Regions from separate parts of the Homo sapiens genome. Here all the other regions are linked to region 1. The links are contacts of gene promoters, found by promoter capture Hi-C in blood cells and fetal thymus (Javierre and others, 2016). All regions are on one chromosome and are shown on one strand. The core of a region is centred on a gene start or on the middle of the fragment in contact, and the rest is flanking DNA. Distances in the headings are between cores, read along the strand shown. Region 1 holds the start of RFC3 (replication factor C subunit 3). Region 2 overlaps HSPH1 (heat shock protein family H (Hsp110) member 1). Region 3 has its middle 2.7 kb from the start of B3GLCT.

The links. The method cuts DNA at HindIII sites, captures the fragments that hold promoters and counts their contacts. A CHiCAGO score of 5 or more calls a contact.
Region 2: a fragment that was not itself captured here is called in contact with the fragment with the promoter of RFC3 in region 1 in 1 of 17 cell types (naive CD8 T cells); the score reaches 5.4 in naive CD8 T cells.
Region 3: a contact is called between a fragment that was not itself captured here and the fragment with the promoter of RFC3 in region 1, in 1 of 17 cell types (total CD8 T cells). The highest score is 5.2, in total CD8 T cells.

What each region holds. Positions count from the first base shown.
Region 1 is chr13:33,816,881-33,819,417 of GRCh38, reverse strand. It overlaps RFC3 (replication factor C subunit 3), which reads right to left and starts at 1,269. Exons shown (of 9, transcript NM_002915.4): 1 at 1,153-1,269. The coding sequence starts at 1,239. The HindIII fragment of the contact is 2,489 bases long and covers 1-1,714 here.
Region 2 is chr13:31,159,283-31,161,819 of GRCh38, reverse strand. It overlaps HSPH1 (heat shock protein family H (Hsp110) member 1), which reads left to right. Exons shown (of 18, transcript NM_006644.4): 1 at 1-344. The coding sequence starts at 238. Among named protein-coding and RNA genes, the nearest start is that of HSPH1, 1.4 kb to the left of the region's middle. RefSeq lists enhancers at 40-119, 1-276, 277-822. The HindIII fragment of the contact is 798 bases long and covers 864-1,661 here.
Region 3 is chr13:31,196,011-31,198,547 of GRCh38, reverse strand. No RefSeq gene overlaps it. Among named protein-coding and RNA genes, the nearest start is that of B3GLCT, 2.7 kb to the left of the region's middle. The HindIII fragment of the contact is 2,308 bases long and covers 114-2,421 here.

The DNA of each region.
Region 1 (2,537 bases), core at 20-2,519:
AAAAACGTTTCCATCAGCATCATATATTAATTTGAGTTCCTTAAAAGGAGTGGATAAATGTCTTCCACAGACACTTTATTCTCCTAAAGATCCTTCTTTACTCTCTACTCCCTGGAAGATTCAGTTCGTTCTCACAAAATATTGCCATTGGGCACTTTTATCAACTACAACAGACAAAGAGGCATCAGGATAGAGGGGAGAGGATCTTTCACAAAGCTCTAATCTCAGCCACGCACGGTGGCCCACGCCTGTAATCCCAGCACTTTGGGAGGCCGAGGCAGGCGGATCACCTGAGGTCAGGAGTTCGAGACCAGCCTGGCCAACGTGGTGAAACCCCGTCTCTACTGAAAAATACAAAAATTAGCTGTGCGTGGTGGCGGGCGCCTGTAATCCCAGCTACTCGGGAGGCTGAGGCAGGAGAATCGCTTGAACCCGTGAGGCGGAGGTTGCAGTGAGCCGAGACCGCGCCATTGCATTCCAGCCTGGGCGACAACAGCTAAACTCCGTCTCAAAAAAAAAAAAAAAAAAAAAAAAAACTAATCTCAGGAACGTCCTAATACAATTTATTTGAGAATTAGAAACGATCTTTGGAGTAAATACATATTTACAACACTTTACTTGTAAATGACAATGACATCGAGAAATCTTAAGCCAGCTAGAAAGTAAATCACATGGTGTCATCTCCGCTCAAAATGCTCCAACGGCTTCTCGTCTTATTCTGAGACTGACTGGGTCTGCACTCCAACTCCATCCCAACACATACACCCATCTCCGATTACCCTTCCCGCTGGTTCACCACTATCGGCTACGCCGGCCTCCTGAGGTTCTTAGAACATGCCGTGCACATCCCTGCCCGGGAATTTTGCACTTGCTGTCCCCTCTTACCTGTTCCACTCTTTGCTCGGATTTCTGTATTTATGACTTTTCAATTTCCTTCAAGTCTCGGCTCAGATGCCACTTCTCAGTGGAGCTTTTCTTGTTTAAAAATACAAGCCAGCCTCCCACACCTCTTCCCCCTTCCCTGTGTTATTTTTCTCCATAGCACTTATCACCTTCCAATGCGGGCGGGAGAAGCACTGCTCCTCAGGGGGGCGCGAAACCCCGAGCCGGGGGGCCTCCCCTCTCCCACGCTCCCGGCCCCCGCAGACTCACCAGGTTCCGCAGCTGGGCCGCCTGCTCCTTGTGATAGTCCAGCCGTCCCAAGGAGCAGGGCCGATACTTGTCCACCCAGAGGCTCATGGCAGCTCGAGTTCCCGGGGGCCTACGCTTGAAAATCCCGCGCGAGCGCGCGTCCTCCCCACAACGCAGAGACAAGTTTTCCCGCGAGCTCCAAATCTCGTGACGTCACTACCGGTCGCGGCCGCGTAAATGATTTTGGACGGAAAGGCTACGGGGGCCGTGTGCAGACAAAATCAGCTGCCGCGTCGATGCCCTCTAGTTCTGAAGTTCACTGCTTTATTTATTTTCTCTTTGTTCGCACCGTCTATTATATTCTAGAAATTATCAAGCGGAATTGAAAATGTGGTTCTGACCCTTTTGGCGTCACATCCAGATACCTCAGAGAAGACCGTTCCTTTCATTTATTCATTCTTTCATTCACTTAATTCATTCAACAAAAATTTACTAAATATCTGCTAGGTGTGGAACTCTGTCCTCGGCACTAGAATATATACATCTCAGGGTTTCACTCACTTGGCAGGTACCCAGTAAAGCTTCATTGGATGAATCGCTTGAAAATGTCTGATCTTCACTATCCTTTGTTACCTCTATTCCTCAATATTCTTATTGGATTAGAAACAAAAGAATCAAGAGCATGGAAAAACTACCCAAATGTGGTCTGTAGGGGAGAAGACACGAGGTTAATATGCATTCTAAGTCTAGAATATTTGAAAGCCCTCCAATTAAAATGTGTAGAAGCATCTGAACCCCTCAGAAAAATATTCTGCATATGAAGTTGATATGCAACTTTTGAAGTTCTCTTCAAATAGTGCCTCTCAAAATGCACTTTACTCATTGTACATAATATTAATTCCTTATTTAATTTATGCTTTTATTTTATGTATTATTAAGAACCCTAAGTCCTGCCATTTGATTGCAAGGTCTTACAGGCAGGAAATGATTTCCAAATATACTTAATAACCTTTCACCAAGGTGCCTCTTACTCATTTATTAATCAATAATTTATCATGTTCTTCTATGAATCGTCATATTACATGAATTACTCCTGCAGGTAAGGTATTATCCACACCACCAAGTATAAGATTTAATCCCTGTTCTCGAGAAACTTTCTATAATAAGCCTGGAAGGCTTCTGCCTCAGGGCCTTTGCAATTACTGTTTCCTCTTCCTGGACTATGTTTCTCCAGTCAGCAGAGTTGGGTCCCTCATTTCCTTCAGGATGTTGGCTCAAGTATTATCTCCTCACTGAGGCTTCCCTGACCACCCTATTTAATATTGCAAAAAAGCTTCATCTTCTTTATGCTTCTCTCCTTTGGAATTGAAATGGAGGAAGTGTTTGAAATGAGAAGGTAAAGGAAA
Region 2 (2,537 bases), core at 13-2,512, 2.7 Mb after region 1:
CTGAGCCCCGCTTTCTCCCAGGGTTTCTTATCAGCCAGCCGCCGCTGTCCCCGGGGGAGTAGGAGGCTCCTGACAGGCCGCGGCTGTCTGTGTGTCCTTCTGAGTGTCAGAGGAACGGCCAGACCCCGCGGGCCGGAGCAGAACGCGGCCAGGGCAGAAAGCGGCGGCAGGAGAAGCAGGCAGGGGGCCGGAGGACGCAGACCGAGACCCGAGGCGGAGGCGGACCGCGAGCCGGCCATGTCGGTGGTGGGGTTGGACGTGGGCTCGCAGAGCTGCTACATCGCGGTAGCCCGGGCCGGGGGCATCGAGACCATCGCCAATGAGTTCAGCGACCGGTGCACCCCGTAAGTGGGAGTCTGCGAGGGTGGATGGGAGGAGGTTCTGGGCCCTTAGTGTGGGGACCCAAGATCGCGGGCTGGCTGTACGGATCACCGCGGCAAACGGAGGCGTTTGGGCAGCGGCGCACCCCTCCGTGGAACTAGGGACCAGCGACCCGGCCAGAGGAGGGATGGGGGGCTTGCCATCACAAATTGGAGAAGGGATTGTCTCAGGGATTCACGGGGGTGAGAGGAGTCCCAGAGTCGAGACTCTAAGGGTCGTCACCTTGTGCGGGCTTCCTATTGGGGGTTTTCAAAACCTACTGGGGGTCGGGCTGCGGCAAAGCCCGCAACTTCGCTCCCTTTTCTTGGCAGGCTGCAGCCTGCGCCTTCCGCGGCCGCCCCCGTATCCCCACCCGGCCTCTCTGAGCTGGCTGAGCCGCCTCCAGCTTGTCCTCCTCCCTTCGCGCATATCTTTGCGCACCGCGGAGCGGGGCTGCCGGCCTTTTTCTTCCGCATTGTGAATCTCGAAATGAACTGGAAGCTTCCAGAGCTTGTGTCGCTGCTTGTCCAGTGAGCAGGCGGATTGTTGTTAGCGACCACGGAAGCAGTCCTATGAAAGATTAGCCCACCTCTTTTTACCCAGTCTCTTCGTTGCTAACATTGTTGGCCTTAATGCCCGGGATCATTGTCGAAAGATGTAAACGTCTTTTTTTTTGCTCTTTGCCATTCATGAGGAATTGTAAACCGTATTTTTAAAATTAATTTTGCACAGTTTATTTAAAAGAGAATAAAAATTGCATACTTTTGTGCTAGGACGCCAAAAGAGGATGGATGTCGTCACTGAACTAAATATTCTATAGGAGCATAGGGTGGGCAAAGGGCAACATTTTAAAAAGCAAGTTTCGTGAAGGGATATTTTCGGACGAGAATATATACAAACATATCTGCATGTGCATTGATGAAAACAAATGATTTCATCTCAAGGAAAATACTGTACCTATTAATTTTTTTCAAATGTCCCAAGCTCAGGATGAAAAGTGCAAAATGAAAACATTGAACCTAAAGGTAGAATGAATGACTGGGGTAATACAATTATTTGGGTGCTGAGAACGTTTATGAAAGTTGAGTGGAAAATCTGAGGCAAAATATTTGGCAATGTTAGTAACGTTAGGAAGACTGTTCTGAGCAACCTGTACGTCTACCCCTGCAGATCTAAGTTTGTGTTTTGGTTAAGGTTTTTTTAATTGGAGTTTAGTAAGAAAGAAAACAGTATTTCAGGCTTTCATGCCTAGATACAGTTTATACTTTGTTCTGGTTGATCCAATAAAACAAAGAAAAGCTTTTCAGAGAAGAGAGTGGGAAAAAAAATTGTGTTATACAGGGACTACTGTGTGAAATCAAAGACAACAGGTATGGCCCTGAAAAATGTGAACTGAGGGCAGTATTGGAGTTCCCCTTAATATGTTTGTTAAACTATAATTGTGGTGGATTCTATTGTATCAGCTACTAATTGTTATTTAGTACAATTAATTTGATTCTCCCCTAGGAAAATGAGTAGATCCATTCTGCAAGTGTATGGTTATTCAGAGCTTACAGTGATGCTCTGATTTTGACGGTTTCTTGTCTAGCTTCTGCTTGGACACTTCTCTGGCTTTTAGGATGCTATTTTATTTAACACTTGCTCAGATAATATAGTTTGAGGATGTTTCTATTATAGCAAATTTAAACTTAAGGGTGGTACTTAATGCCCTCAGTATTTTCCCGTTTTGCTCATCTCGTTTACCATTACTCATACCTAAGCAGGTAGGAGTAACTCACCCAAAATTAGATTATATTTGAATTAGTAATCCAGAATTAGATAACTCCTCTAATCCAAAACCTAATTCACTTACCTTCTTCTCACAAGACTTTTTAAGCTAGTCTCTGCTCTGTTATTGTGCGGTTCCATTTCCATGGTGGCTGAGAAGGTTGTTTCACAGTTGTAAGTCACTTTCCATCTCTTCAAAACAGATTTGATGTAACTGATTAGTCACTCCTTTCCCTCGACATTTATATTCTGTTTTGCCATGGTACTTGTTGTGCATCATTTTTTTCTTTCTCCGGCAGAATCTCCCAGATGGGAACCTCTTTGTGCTCTTTAAACTTCAGAGGTGTAACTTGGGTTCATTTGCTTGCGTTTGCATAAAAACTTTTGATTCCTAAAGAAGCCGGTGGTAT
Region 3 (2,537 bases), core at 18-2,517, 2.6 Mb after region 1:
TTGATGGGAGGAAAAAGAAATGTAGGGATCCTTCCATTTCATTTCTTAGTGAAGCATTTCAAATCTATGGTTGACTGAATTCATTGCTTTTATCCTTGGGAAATTCTCAAGCTTACCTGCCTAGTAGTTCTAGATTGTTTCCAATTTCCAAAGCTGTTTTCGCTTTTTTCCAAGAAAATATTCCTTGCATATGTGGGGTAGTAAACATTTAACCAAACTGTTTAATTAGACACAGAAGACTAATAAGCAGGGTCAAATGCCTACTCCACGTGGGTAAGCAACTCCTGGTGCTTAATCAATGTTTTCATGGAAATTCATCATGTTAGAGTATTACTATGTTCCAGAACAAGGTGTGGAAAATTAAGCCCTAAGGACAACAGAGAACACACCGTTTAAGTAATAAACTTGCCCTGGTGTCCTTCCTTTCCACAGTAGACATAGATAAATGGCACATTACAAAGCTCCATAACTCACATTTTAAAAAGAATTGCCTTTCACTTACTCTAGTCATATGATAAATGGACTTGCTGGGAGTTCTCTCTCCCAATCACATGTCAGGAGAGTTTCCTAGAGCAACGTACTGATGAGGATACTAACAGATACATGATAGGCACTGCTTGCCTATAACATTGACTGTAAAGGAACAACTCTAAGTAGAAAAAAAATAAATCCTATAAACTTTAAGATTGTGATATGAAAACAAGCAAGCCATCTTCTTGGGATTTACTCAATCCCAGCTGTCACCTCCATGCTGGCCCCTGAAACTTTCTTTGTTGAGGGACAGGGGAAGAAGCAAGGAGCCATCTTTTGTTGGGGAAGGCACTGTCGCAACCTGGTTAAAACAGACTGGTAATTTTACAGATAATTTTCTAAATACTAAAGGAGAACATAAAGACATACTAAAACCACTGAGAGCCAAATAATCTAATGAACAAGTTCCAAACAGATGGTTTCTGATCTTACAACAGTTATCCTTGAGGCCCAAAAGGCTGAACTCCATTCATTCAAATGATAGGGAGCACCTCTAGCTGATGTGCCCTTTGCTAAGCTCTGGGGCAGATATTAAAGAGCATAAAACATGGTCCTGGGCCCAAGAACTCACGGTCCAGTTTGGGAGACAAAAATGTTCATAACTAACTTTGCTACCTTCTTATAAATGCTATGGCATGCGTAGATCAGCACACTTTGGAACACACAGGGAAAAAAAAATCTCTCAGGGCCTTTGGAATCTGTAAGAAAAGAAGCGACTGTTGCACAGGATCTTAAAGGAGAAATAGCAGGTTCCTGAGCTGAGAAAGGAGGACAGGCGCCCCAGGCTGAGGCACAGCACGAATGTGCAAATCAACAGTAGTGTGGCGGGTGGGGAGAGGGGCTGCAAGGAGGAACAGCTTCTCACTGTGCCCCCTCCAGCCTGCTGCCTCTCTCCTGTGACTTGGAAGGGGCCTCCCAGGCACCCTGTTTCTATACTAGCAAAGCCCAAAGGGCATATTCCAACTCTTCCCACTCTCGGTGCCCTTTCACTCAGTGTCAGGCCTAAAGTGGATTAGCAGTCAACACAATTCAGGAGGACTATTCTCTTCCTGCATAAAACAGCAGGTTTATGAATTATGAGTGGTCTTGAGGATTATTTTCCAAACCTAAAATCAGGTCTTAAGGTTTAATAGTAAAATAGAATGTCTAAAACAGGGTCTCCGGGACTTAAGGTCATTATAATATCAGACCTATGCTACAGTACTTTAATCATCTGCTCACCATCCTCACACCCCACAATCAGTGCACACTAGGGGGTTACAGGAGAAAGACTCATCACTTGTACCTTACGCTTTAGCGTTTTGGGAAGGAAGATAATCTATGATCCCCGTGGAGAAGAGGGAGACAGGAAGAGAAGAGAGGGAGCAAAACTTTCATCACTCAGAGAGGACCCAGAGCCACAGCCCCACTGCATGTACTCAGGAAGAATCCTTTGATGACATACGGTGGTTTCTTTAATGCCCTCAGGGAGCTTGTCTCACATTGCTTCCAAAGCTATTCAAAAATTATAGGCAAGGCCAGGTGCAGTGGCTCACACCTGTAATCCCAGCATTTTGGGAGGCTGAGGCGGGTGGATCATTTGAGGTCAGGCATTCAAGATCAGCCTGGCCAATGTAGTGAAAGCCCATCTGTACTAAAAATATAAAAATTAGCTGGGCATGGTGGCGCACGCCTGTAATCCCAGCTAATCAGGAGGGGGAGGCAGGAGAATCGTTTGAACTGGGGAGGTAGAGGTTTCAGTGAGCCGAGATCACGCCACTGCACTCCAGCCTGGGCGACAGAGTGAGATTCTGTCTGGAAAAAAAAAAATATATATATATATATATATATTTAGGCAAAACCCATTCTGTCAAACCAAACTTTCAACCAAGATTTTTATTCAAAGAAGCTTAACAAAGGGATTCTCACAGCCTAACAACCCTGAACCAAAATCCAGGAAATATAACAGGTTACCATCTCAGCAGACCCCCCAGGAAAGCCCAGAAATCTGAAGCCATTGACATTTG